Regions from separate parts of the Homo sapiens genome. Here region 1 is linked to region 2. The links are contacts of gene promoters, found by promoter capture Hi-C in blood cells and fetal thymus (Javierre and others, 2016). All regions are on one chromosome and are shown on one strand. The core of a region is centred on a gene start or on the middle of the fragment in contact, and the rest is flanking DNA. Distances in the headings are between cores, read along the strand shown.

Region 1 (6,124 bases), core at 1,112-3,611, 530 kb before region 2:
AAGAAGGTTTTGCCTCTAGAACCAGGTCTGCCACCAACTTGCTGTGTTAGCTTAGACCAATCACTTCCTGTCTCTGAACTCTAGCCAAGTGGTGGACCAGGCGGGAGCAGAGAAGCCAGCTCTCCACACAGGCATCGTCCTACCACCAGTGGCAGAGAGTGGGGGCCTGTGGCCAGGCAGCCAGGATGAGGTCTGCCCCAGCTGTGATTCCCACCAGGCCTGGAGAGTTTGTCCACCAGAGCTTGGAATCTGCTTCCAATTCCAGGCTCCAACCAGTCACCTCCACTGGTCACCGCAGTGCACCTCTTGAGGCAGGTCTTCTTACTGGATGTGTCCTCATGCCCGGGTGCAGTGCCAGCCAGGCCTCCATGGAACTCCATTCCTGGTCTCCGTGTCCAGATGGGTTCTGCACCTATCGGGTCTTAAGATCCTGCCCACTCTGCAACTGTCGACAGAAACAAAGAGATCAGGATCAGGTGTGGAGCCGTGACATGGCCCTGCCCAGCCACCCCTCTGGGGCTAGGAGGGAGCGATCAGCTGGCCTACCCTGAATCTGTCCTAGGGTTTGAATGAATCCTCTTTGTCCCCTACCAAGCACTGCAAGGATTACGAATCCCATTTACAGATGAGACACCTTGGGTTCAGGGCATTTTGGTGACTGACTCCAGGTGTCCGAAGCCCCTGTTTAATTTCATCTTTGCCACCAATGCTAGTCTACAGCACCTGGGAGTGGTAGGCAGAGGACAGTCTCCGAGGAGCCATAGCCACATAGCACTGAGGATGGGCAGAGGGGGCAGTGGGGAGGGACGAGTCTCCAGCACCCAGCACAGGACTGAATGTGCAGGTCCCCTCGAAGCCCCAGCTCCCTTCCTCCCAAACCACTCCCAGGGATGCCATGTCCCCTTCAAACACCCGTACCACCCCTAACACCCCTGCCCCAGCTCCTATCACATGGCCCCAAATCCTCCCTGCTCCATCGTCCACTTTTTAAGCAGTGAAGCTAAAAGGTTCTGGGATTCAGAATCCAAAACAAAGCCCTGGCTTCCACCTGTTGTACCCCTAAGTACCAACTGTGGTGTAGGCAAGCTTGGCAAACCTGTTTCCTCATCTGCCAAAAGGCTGAAGAGGCCCGTGCCTCAGAGCGCCAGCTTGGAACCAGAGGTCCTGGAGCAGAGTCCTGGCTGCCCCCTTTCTCACTGCCAGACCTTGGCCAGGCCTCTTAGCTGGGGGCCTTATGTTCTCTTGCCCAGATGACCCAAGCCCCTCGAGGCTCCAGCTCTTCCCACATCAGTCTGTCCTCACAGTGCCTCTGATTCTCCTCCTAAAGCATAAGTCTGAGATCATAGCACTCATCTCATTAAAAATCTCAGTGTCCCCACCCCCTGACCACGAAGTCCTTTGTAGGGCAAACCTCCCCTTGGGACACCTGGAGACAGTCACTGAACTATCAGGACCCCCCCTCCCTTGAAAACACCCTTCTACACACTTGCTCTTCCTAGAACAATTTTATTTGTCCCCATGACCTGGTTCAAAGCCATCAAACTCCCCTGGGTGACGAAGAGAAACCAGTCACCCTCCTCGGTCTCACCCCAGAGCACTTTGTAGGTTGGCCCCGCGTCACACACCGAGTGTGAGCACCCCGTGTCAGGGCCTGCGGTCCTCATGTGTGTCTCTGGGAGAGCCCAGCCCGGCACAGTCAGTGGCACATGGTGTGGCAGAATCAACTAAGGCTCTGTGCACCAGTGACCTCACCCTCTCTCATCCAGTAGCTGCAATATATCCCAGCGAGGAAGAGTCCCTCATCTATATCCCCAACTTACAGATGAGTAAACTGAAACATGAAGTGAAATGACATCTCAAGGACAGCAGAGAGTGTGTACAGGAGCCAGGAGGCCTAGGGGCTGAGGTTGGGCGTGGGGTTTGTGGAAAGTGGCCTCTCCAAGTCTCTTTCAACTCTGACATTCTGGGGATGAAGATCCGGTAAGCAGCTCATCACAGAGAAACCTACAGCCCGGTACCCAGACCGCCCCACCTGCCATCAAGAATCAACACCACGCACTCCACCCCCACCACTCCCAGCCCTGAGAGGGGCTCTGGCCAGCCCCGCAGGTCTCACCTGCTCTAGGCCGGATGGGCCAGAGAAGGAGAACCATGGCAGGAGCCGGAAGCAGCTGTGCGCAGCCAGCCAGAGGGTCCCGAGGGAGGAACGCGAGCGGGCGGCCGGAGCCTGGCGGCGGCCCACACCTTCAAGAGCCCAAGCCAGCGCTGCCCCTCTCCCGGGATCCCATCTAGAGAGGGAGCTGCGGCCCAGGGCCATCTCCAGGGGTCGGGGACGCACGTGCGGGGCGGGAAGCAGCCGTCGGCAGCAGGCCCCGGGCGCATCATAGCACGCGTCCTAAGTGGGCCGCCTGGCCCTCGGGCCCGTGGCCGTGGCTGCGCTGATGGGTCTTGAGCGAGCCCTCGCGCGCGAAGCTCTTGCCGCAGCGGGGGCAGAAGTAGGGCCGCCGCTCCCCGAAGACGCCGGGGCGGCGCGGGTGCGGCGCGGGCATGCGCGCGTGGGTGCGCTGGTGGTTGAGCAGGAAGCGCGGCTCGCGGAAGCAGCGGCCGCACTGCGCGCACTGGTGCGGCTTCTCGCCGCTGTGGATGCGCTGGTGCGTGAGCAGGTTCTGCTTGAGGCTGAAGCAGCGGCCGCACTCGGGGCAGGGGAAGGGCCGCTCCCCGGTGTGCGTGCGCTGGTGCACCTCGAGGTTGTGCTTGACGCTGAAGGCCTTGCCGCACTCGGGACACACGAAGGCAGCCGCGCGGCCCGCTCCGGCGTGCGCCTTCTGGTGCCGCACCAGGCTGGGCTGCTGCGAGAAGGTCTGGCCGCACAGCGGGCAGCGGTAGGGCTGCTCCTCTGCAGGGTGGTGGATGACCAGGCCTCGCTCGTCCCCCAGACCCTCCTCCCCGTCCCCCGCAGGGGACCCGCCCCCGGAGGACGCCAGCTCGGTCATGGGCACTTCCAGCTGCAATCACCAGTCCCTAGGGAGACAGAAGCGGGGGCGGGGGTGGGGGGTGGAGAGAGAGGGGTCGGGGAACACGAGGGTTAGCCAACCCCCAGCCTGGCAGGGACACTCACCTCCCACAACCTCCACCTTTCGCCCCGTTTTGTTCAAGCTCAAGTTCCCCTGCTGGGAATTGGTGTTCCTCTTCCTCCACTGCCTTTTAAGCACGGCCTACACTCCTTCCAGTCCCTTCCCAAGGGCACCTTCTCCTAGAAGCCTTCCCTGACCTTTCCACCCCGGGCTTAAACACCGTGTGACACAACCATGTGGCTCTCACTGATCATACTGCACGAGGGTCAGTCATGCCACCTCTGTCCCCCGACTCCCAGCACCCTAAGGACAGAGCTGCCTTCTTTCAACCCCAGCACCTAGCACCATGCCAGCCAGCCACACAAGACACTAGACAGATGGTGATGAGTTTCAGTTAGGATTTTCAGTTTCAGTTTCAGCTAGGATTTTCAGTTACCTTCGTCTAGATATGTCTTATCCCTCCAACCAGATCTCAAGGACAGGGGGAGGTAGGGAAGTGCACCCCAAACTTGGAGAAAAGGGTGGCATTATCAGTGATTTAAAGATATTTTTGTGAAGCTTAAAACAGGAAAAAAAACACAACCCTGTAAACTTGAAAGTGACCTCGGTTAAACATTAAAGGCGGCAGCTCTTTGTTTATCAAAATGAGGCATGTGTTCAAAAGGTTTCCAAGTCACTGAACCAGGGTGTGGGCTCCCAGGGGGACTGGTCTCAGCGTGATTCCTCTTGGTATCCTCACAGCAAAGCCTGGCCCAAGGCTGAGCAGCACCCTCAGTGCCCAGCCAACACCCCCAAACCCAGCTCCCTTCATGCTGCTTCTCCAAAGGATCCTCTTCCCAGGACACTGTGTTCCTCTTAAATTGTTTCCCATTGTCCTCACAACAGCCCTGAGAAAGGGGCGGAGCAGGGTTATTGAGCCCCACTTTAAAGATGGGGAAACTGAGGCTCAGTGAGGTCAACATACTTGCCAAGGTCACAGAGCAAGGTGAGCCTGGACTAGGCCTTAAGTCTCCTGTCTCACTGTTGAAAGCTCTTTTCAATGTACTAGCTGCTCAACAACTAAACACTCCTCAAAACACACACACACCCCCCACTGCCACCATCCCAGCCGTCACAGAGCCATGCATTCCAAAGGGCCACTTCTCCTGTAGATGCACTGTCTACTGCCACCACTCCCACGACCCCCACCAAAACTTGGGCTCCTGCAGGGCCCTAAGGCCTGCCTCATCCATTCTCCCCAACCCCATCAGGGAAGCCGGCTGAATATTCCACTGGACCTCCCCGAAGGCCTCTCTTCACTTCCAGCCTCAGTCAACCTATCTGCAGAGTGGGGTCTCAGGGCCACCTCCTCTGTCTTCCGTACCCTCGAGGCCGGGGTGGAACTGACCCTGGGGAAGGAGACAAGTCCTACTTGCAAGAGACCCCACCCACAAGTCTTTTCCACAGGCAGCTGCACTGACATCTGCAAAGACAGATCATCAAAGTCCCCTTGGCCAATCTCAGCCCGGCCCTGTGACTGGGCAGCCTCCTCACTCTCCCCAGCTATACCCCTGACTGAGGCCCCGCCTGCACGCCGAAAGGCCCCCCGTCTCTCCCCCAAGTTCTTTCCTCCCATGCCACACTCACAGCCCAGCTGAGCCCCTGCTCCTCCGGTCTCCGGCCGCAGCTCTTTGCTCTACAGTCTGCGCTGCTCAACGCAAATACGGTAACTCTCCCGCAGCGACACCCGCGCCCCTTCTCCCCGCCCCCATAAAGACGGCAAGCGTCCCGCGACGTTGCTCTTATCAAATAGCTGCATTAATCGGGAGAGCTGACCCCACCCCACCCGACCTTACACACAACCTTGCCAACTTCTGCGGCCGGAGCAACCCTGGAGAAATATGGTAAACTCTGCGTCGCAACCCCACCCCCACGAAAATACGTAGGCCTCCACCCTGCTGCCGCAACCCACCCCGCCCGACTGCAAGCCCCAGCTCCCAGAGGGAATGAATGCAGCCCACCCCCCACGGCCGCAGCGCCCCCCCGCGGAGCCACGCAACCCTGGATAAATACGTAATTAAGTCCCGGCGCTCCCACTCCCGGAAAGGACCTGCGCGGGACCCGGCAAATACGGTAGCACGCCCGCAGTGACCCGCCCCCGAGGGTCCGGCTCTGGCCTCGGTAAATACGGTAACCTCCCGCCGCGGCCCCAGCGCGGCCCCGCGCGCACTCACATGGCGCCGCCTCCCGAGCCTTCCGTCTCCGCTGCAGCGCCGCAGTCGCCGGCGTCGTCGCAGCCGCACAGCAGCCCCGTGAGGCTGGGAGGTCTAACTCTCCGGCAGCCCGGCTGGCGGAAAACGGGGCTGCCAGCGCTGCGCCCGCCCGGGCCGGAGCGGCGACCATGCGGGGGCCGGTTCCGGGGCCTGAACGTCCCACGGAGCGGGCCCTCTCAAGCCCCCCGATCCGCCGACCCAGACATTCCCCCTTTCGGGATTCCCTGAGGCCTGCATTCGGCCGTTATAGCACCATCCCTATTTTCCTAATCCCAAGGCCAGGCCCACAAACCGCCCCCAGCGACAGGAAAGAGGGTCGGACGGAGGCGCCGGCCTTTCCCCGGGTGACATGGGCTGAGCGCCGGAGCCCGGCGGCGGAGCGGCCCTGGGCGAGGGTTTCAGGACTGGAGACAATAGTCAAAGGGGCCGAATCGAGGAGCTGCCCTCGCTGACAGTTTCGCCAAAGTCTGCCTGACTATATGGCCTGGGTTATATCACTAGAGTGACCAGAGGGAAAGGAAGAAGACATCAGGCCCCTGCTGACCCCACCTCCTCAGAACGGAACCCGCAGTCAAGCCAGAGATATCCCATAAAAGAGCAACTTACGACGTCTGGAGTAGCAGCGGGCGTGAGAGGGCAGAACCAAATTACAGCTTCCAGCTGCCATTTAATGATAATGTCCCTTACTCGGACATAACTTTGCCTTTTACAAAGCCCTTTTCCATGTTATGATCTCGTGGGAACCTTCCAATAACCATGTGCACCCTACCTTGTGTGGGTTTTATCCCATTTTATAGA
Region 2 (6,706 bases), core at 2,052-4,551:
TCCCAGCTCCTTGGGGAGGCTGAGGCAGAAGGATCATTTGAGCCCAGGAGTTTGAGACCATACTGGCCTGGTCTCAAGACCCCATTTCAATCAATCAATCAATAAAACATAAGGTAAATTAAGAGAATTGGTTAATAGGAATAAAGAATCCATGACCTAATCAGATAAAACAATTTTAACTATGATAACATCAAATCTTAAATCAATGAAGTAAATTTTTTGAAAGTGGGTTTTGTCCTATGTATTTTGAAAAATTTGGCAACCCTGGAAAATATTCCAGTTGTTTCAAAAGAATCTGTTACCTCTTAAAGAATGAGCATCTCATCACTTTACCTGTCCTGTTTTGATTATTCTGAATTAAGAACACCCAACGATGCCAAGCTTAACCCATAAAAATAATGTACAAGACATAGGAAGATGGGAAACCCAACAGCCTTAATGCAGCTTGATTAACCATGAGACAGGCCTCCCAACAAACTAGAACTTGAACTTATCTCTTGGTTGGCAGCCAGGATCATCTAAACATGGAGCAATGTAACCGCAGGTTTGGGATGGATGCGGGGGCAGGGTCTTTTTCTTTTTCCTTTTAAAAAATTTTTTTAATAAAGAGGGATTGGCTATTGTGAATGGCAGTTTTAGCAAGAGACTAAACAATAGACACTGAGGATCTGCAAACTGATTTCCTCACACTCTCCAGGTATTCAAGTCCCTTGGAATGTTCTTCTATATCCCCAGGGTACCTATTCCAAGTTTGATGACTTACTCTCACCTAGTGGTTCTTTTTTTAGAGTCGGAGTCTCACTCTGTTGCCCAGGCTGGAGTGCAGTGGTAAGATCTTGGCTCACCGCAACCTCCGTCTCCCGGGTTCAAGCGATTCTCCTGCCTCAGCCTCCTGAGTAGCTGGGACTACAGGCACGCGCCACCAGGCCTGGCTAATTTTTGTATTTTTAGTAGAGACGGAGTTTCACTATGTTGGCCAGACTGGTCTCGAACTCCTGACCTCGTGATCCACCCACCTCAGCCTCCCAAAGTGCTGGGATTACAGGCGTGAGCCGCCACGTCTGGCCTCTCACCTAGTGGTTCTAAGATGGCTGCATTCCAGTCACCTGGGGGCATTCATGAACAACAGGAATTCCCAAGTGCAGATCTCGAGAGTTGTAATTTCATGGGTGTAGGGTGCAGCCTGAAAACTGTGTTTGAACAATCACTCCAGGTGACCCAGTCAGGCACAGACAGCACTGAGGTGGCCTGCCTCCTTCCTTGCCCAGGTGAGAAAACTACAGCCCATGGGGGCCAGAACTCTGGGGGCAGAGCCAGATCCAGAGCCCAGGGTTCATGACTTCTGGCCCACTGCTCTCTTTCCCATTCCACACCACCTCCACTCCTGTTGTTTTATAGGTTCAGCCTTTCAAGAGGCATTTACTACCAGGACAGAAGGAAGAGCAGGCTAGGGTGAGGAGGAAAGGAGGGAGGACAAAGGAACTGGCTGACTTTGAGCTGGGGAGAGTAGTACTTACAAGAGGTAACAGCAGACGGCGGTGGCGACCAGCATGGTGATGATCACTCTGCAGCAGAAGAGGACACGGGTCAGAACAAATGCAGCCAGCACCTCACAAGGCCTGGCCAGGACCAGAGCAAGAAGAGCTCCTGGTGTGAGCTCTTTTCCATTGGCCTTCCTGATGCCTCCTGGACACAGGAGGCTGAGTTCTACTCAGGGTAAGAATAGCAAGGCAGAAAATAAAAACTGAAAGTGTCACCTCACAGAGAGGCCAACCTTGACCACATCCAAGTTGCCTTAAGAATCCTTCCCTTCATTTCCCTTCTCTACCACCCAATATTGCTCCATCTTAATGCAGACGTGTTGTGGAAAGGCACTGCACAGAGCTGCATTTGTGGCAACCCAACAGGGAGTGGTCTGTAGAATTCAAAATTCATGGAGCAAGGGGAAGGAAAACAATAGGCTAGAAGACAGGGCAAGAAGCAGGCAGACTGTGAGCCAGTTCTGAGGCCCAGTGAGTTGTTACAAAGAGAACAGGGACTAGCCACTTTGCGTGTACTCAGAGAAGACCAGAGACAGATGCTTCAAGTGCAGCAAAAGAAATTTCAGTCAAACTGAAGCAAGAACTCACCAAGAATAGCAGGAGACGCAAGACACGAAAATGGTTTACAAAGTGAAGCTGTGGGATCCCAAACCCTGCCTGTCTTTAAGAACAAAGGCAGCACTCACATGTCCAAACGGCCTTTGGGCAAAGCTAACTCTAATCCAAACGAGGCCCTTGATCTTTGATCTAAAGCACTGCAAGCTGGTGCTGGACACAGGAGCACGCGATCCCTTTTTCAACATTACTAAGCAGGTTGTGCCAGTCCTGGCTGGGCACTGAGTAGACAATGGTGAACTGGACAAACTCCAGCCCCTGGGAACATGCAGTCAAGGGAAGGGTGCTTTGTAACTGAAGATAATATGAAGCAGAAACTGGTGAATGGCGCAGCAATCTGCTAGAGGACCTTCGAAAAATAACGCCAGCTAAACTTATCCCATACCTACAAAGTGTCACGCACTGGTAGGTGTTTTAAATGCGTTACCGCAGGTCATCCTCACAGCAGCCTTTTAAGGCAGGAGTCGACATTATCTCCATTTTACCCATGAAGAAACTGAGACTTGATATTGGCTCTAGGTCACACAGCTAGCAAGGAGTGGAGAAACTGCGTCAGTGCCCACTTGTGCCCTTTACTGGCTGCAGGAGGGGTGACAGACATCTCCAATGTCACTCTCCTCTTTACCTTCTGGATATGCCCTCTCGCCCCACCTCCTGCCTGTTCCCGGCTGTCAGAGACCCAGGTGCAGAGAGACCTCAGAGGTGGCGTCCGGGGTCCTGGCGTCCCTCCTGCGGACGCTCGCTGCAGAGCAGGAAGCCGCCGCCCCGGGGCGGAGGGGCGAGCCGGGCCAGGGGGCCGGGGTGGAGAGGTCTGCAGGGCCTGCGCGCTTTCCTTACCCGCGGTTGGGTCCCTTCGGCACGAACCAGGGCCCGGCGATGCCGACGAGGCCCCAGAACGTGGTGAAGATGATGACCGGGAGGGCGAATGAGTGCGCCGTCATGGCCGGGCGCAGGATGCCCAGGCAGGATGCAGGGCCGAGCAGCGGGCGCTGCAGGTGCGCGGGTCCCCAGCCGGGCAGCGCGCTGAGCATGCGCAACAGGAGTCGAGCACCCGAAGCGATCAGCCGGGCCGGGCCGCGCACGCGCATCTCCTGATCCAGCCCGCCGCGCTGTCACTCAGGACCTGCCTAGGAGCCCACTCGCTGATTGGCTGAGCAGGGCCGCGGACAGAGAGAAATGCCGAGGAATAGGGGCGCGGCCGCCCGGTTTCGGCGATGGGTTATAGGGTCCGCGTCAGCCCCGCGCCCGCACAGCCAACGTCACGCCGCATTCTTATTTCCAAAGACCCCTGGAGCTTGGGGTCCCACCCCAGCGGTCTTTCGGGGCGTCCCCTGCCCTTCACGCGCCGCGCCGGCTCGGCCCGAAGCGCCCTGCGGACCCGCAGCCTGGGCCGCCCCGAACCTGACGGCCCCGCGGGGGTCGGACGCGGGAGGAACGGCCTCGCTTTCAGAGACGCAGCGGGAGGGCGGTCCCCGCTGTCCCTCTGGCCGGGTCCTCAGCACGCGTTCTCCTCACTCCCAGGACTAGCGAGCGGCGGGCGCGGACCGGGGCCTGGGGTCGGAGGCGGCGCAGCCAGAAAGGCCCCAGCGGCGCTGAGACGTTTGGGGGAAGGCGGGGGCTTCGCGTTTCGATGGCGGGAAGCGGAATGAGGTTGGACCGGCCGGGCCGGCGTTCAGGGACCCGGCGGGAGGCGGAGGGCTGGCGTCCTCGCGGACATCCATCTGCAGCGAACCAGGCAGAGGCTTTGGGATTAGATCCTTGACTCCTTGCGTCAGTAGTTAAGGTTTGTTTAAATATAAAATGGGATGGCCCTTCTTACAAGGTTGCTGGAGGATTAAATGAATAGGCATGTGGAAAGCACCTAGTATAATAAGGCTCGGTAGTTTCTTCCATCAGGGCTGGAAGAGACCACGGAGCCTGCTTTCCTCCTTCGGCGTTTGGATCTCACATATCCCTTCTTCTCTGGCGATCAAAAATCCCTATCTTCTGTAGAGATCCCTTTTACAGATCAGTGGCCTCCAGGCGGTATCTCTAGCAACAAGTGCTACCCCAAGCGGCCGGCCACACATATTCCCTGGCTTCATGACATAGGGAGGCGCAGTCCCCACGTGATGCAGAAGGGAAATGTGCCTGTCCTTGCACTGACCCCGTCAGCCATGTGTGCTCCTGGCTGTTTTCTGAAATCAAGAACCAGTTACATCCGCCCTTCTCCGTTCTCTAGTTGAAACCTCCCTATCCATCCTTCCAACATTCATGTAAGTTGGAGGTGGGCGTGGGATGACACCAAACTGTTAGGTATAAAATACCATCCTAGCCTTCGAGGGGTTTCTAAAGTAGTTGAGGAGTGATATATTCTGGTAAAATCATAATGCTGGACAGCGCAGTTCTAAGAGCCCTGTGATCAAAGTAGCCAAATGCCCATTATGAGAATTCAGAGGGTGGAGAAATCCAGGAAGACTCCCTGGAGGAGGTGAGATTTTAGCTGGATTGTAAACAATGGTTATTTTTCTCATCCAGAGTGTGTACATTGTTGAGAACACTGGCCTAGGATAAGGGTGCACTTGGCATCCAGGAGATAGAGTTAAGAGTATGTCCATACAGGCCTTCAAAAAATCACCACGAGGGCTGAGCGCAGTGGCTCACACCTGTAATCCCAGCACTATGGGAGGCAGAGGCGGGCGGATCACGAGGTCAGGAGATCGAGACCATCCTGGCTAACACGGTGAAACCCCGTCTCTACTAAAAATATAAAAAAATTAGCTGGGCATGGTGGCGGGCACCTGTAGTCCTAGCTACTTTGGAGGCTGAAAGGAGAATGGCGTGAACCCGGGAGGCAGAGCTTGCACTTGCAGTGAGCCGAGATTGTGCCCCTGCACTCCAGCCTGGGGGACAGAGTGAGACTCCGTCTCAAAAAAAAAAAAAAAAAAAAAATCACCACGAAAGTTCTATAGCTCAAAAAAGACGGACTTTTTGAATTTTGTTCTGGAAAAAAAAAAATCCTCTGTAGAAAATGACAGCTGTAAAGTGAAATGTATTTCCTTCTTTGCCTCTGCTCCTTTGTCTTGGCTTTGGCCAGAACCAAAAACATTGCTGAGTCTGAGCAGCCACTCATATTAGCAGCCTGCAGCTCTTACTCTTTTCCTTTAATGTCTTTGATGTTTCATTTCTGTCCTAATTTGCATGTGATTGCCTGTGTCATTTGTTTGGCAGCTTTGTGATGGTCTGAGGTCCATGAAGGGATTAAAACCAGGAACTGGCTCCTTCTCCAACCACTAAAGCCTCATCTGGGCCCACAAGCCCTGGCTGTTCCCTGGAGCGTGACTGGAAGATGTGAGCAGCTTTGTGCTGGAGCCCCATTTCCATGGGTAAACTGTTCACCTGATCAAACAGCTCCCCAGAGTTCCACAGTACCACATATTTATTTTCTAGAACTTTGTTTTTAGCTGAAAGGGATCTTAGAGGCTAAGGCAATCCTATCACTTTACAGGTGATAAAACTGAGGCCCAGAGAAGTGAAGTAACTTGCCTAGGCCCACACAGCTCATCAGTAAAAGAGCCAGAACACATGGCCGAGACTTCTCCCTAATCCAGCGTCTCCTCCACACTCCCAGCTCACCCCTAGGGTTTGTGCCCAGGCTGAGGACACTATTTTCAGAGGCACTAATGTGAGGCAAAGGGCATGTTACCAGACACAGCCCCGCCTACCCCGGTCCCCTGAGGTGGAGCTGTGCATTCCACTGGCTTCACGGTTCCCCTCTGCCCTGGCGGCTTCTGGTTGGTATTGGCGCCACCGACTGCTCTGCCATGGCTCCTCAGTGAGTGCTTTGGGTGTGATTGACAAGTTTCCATGACATCTCCCAGGGAGTGGGGTCCTGATGTTGGTGACATCTCTATCGTTCATCTTTTCATGGGGCTGATGAATTCCTAGAAAGGGTAGAAGGAGAAGGAGCCACTGAAAGAGGCTCTTTAAAACTTCCCTGAGTGTCCCCCAGTGCAAATGAACAGGAGCCCCAGGACACTTGAAGGCCCTAGGAAATCACACCTCAGAGCCACAGATGCATCCTAATGCTCTCTGCAGACGGGGCACGTGTCGGAGGTGAGAACAACAGCTCCAGATGTCTCTGTCTTTGCAAATAAGGCCTGTGACATTTAATGATGTAACCACCTACCTTCCACCCATTGTTCTGGTGGCCATGAGTAGAAGGAATTATACCAGGATGTGATAAGAAGGAATTAGGAGCTGGGAGTCTTGCTGGGTGAGGACCTTGGCCCCTTGCTTGCTTGCCATCTAATAGGGGCACTCCTGGCCTGTGGGGTCAGGGAGAACTAGACCCAGAGCATGGTTGTCTCTGTGACTAGTTGAGCCTGTTTCTCCTTCAAGGGCCCTGGCAGTGGGAAAACATATTATGACAATTGCACTGTTTTATCAGCCCTTGGCACTCCTGAAGTTGCCCTGAAATAAACATCCCTACCTGTATGCCAGGCCCTGCCTACTTCTGGAGCTCTCTTAGGTTTACAACCTACCCCCGCTGTCCCAAATTGATAGGGTGA

What was found. Contacts are between HindIII fragments. The CHiCAGO score rates a contact against its expected background, and 5 or more counts as called.
Region 1: a contact is called between a fragment that was not itself captured here and the fragment with the promoter of ATP6V0E2-AS1 in region 2, in 1 of 17 cell types (fetal thymus). The highest score is 5.5, in fetal thymus.

The regions. Positions count from the first base shown.
Region 1 is chr7:150,404,481-150,410,604 of GRCh38, reverse strand. LOC728743 (zinc finger domain-containing protein LOC728743) reads right to left here and starts at 4,929. Exons shown (of 3, transcript NM_001395976.1): 1 at 4,701-4,929; 2 at 2,117-3,021; 3 at 1-445. The coding sequence starts at 2,993. The coding sequence ends at 2,382. RefSeq lists enhancers at 3,607-3,656, 3,950-4,458 and a silencer at 5,167-5,626. The HindIII fragment of the contact is 2,546 bases long and covers 1,089-3,634 here.
Region 2 is chr7:149,870,457-149,877,162 of GRCh38, reverse strand. ATP6V0E2-AS1 (ATP6V0E2 antisense RNA 1) reads left to right here and starts at 3,301. Exons shown (of 4, transcript NR_027040.1): 1 at 3,301-3,939; 2 at 5,367-5,521. ATP6V0E2 (ATPase H+ transporting V0 subunit e2) reads right to left here and starts at 3,194. Exons shown (of 4, transcript NM_145230.4): 1 at 2,994-3,194; 2 at 1,518-1,565. The coding sequence starts at 3,097. RefSeq lists silencers at 2,758-2,937, 3,348-3,427, 3,458-3,667 and enhancers at 2,958-3,097, 2,427-3,395. The HindIII fragment of the contact is 7,156 bases long and covers 384-6,706 here.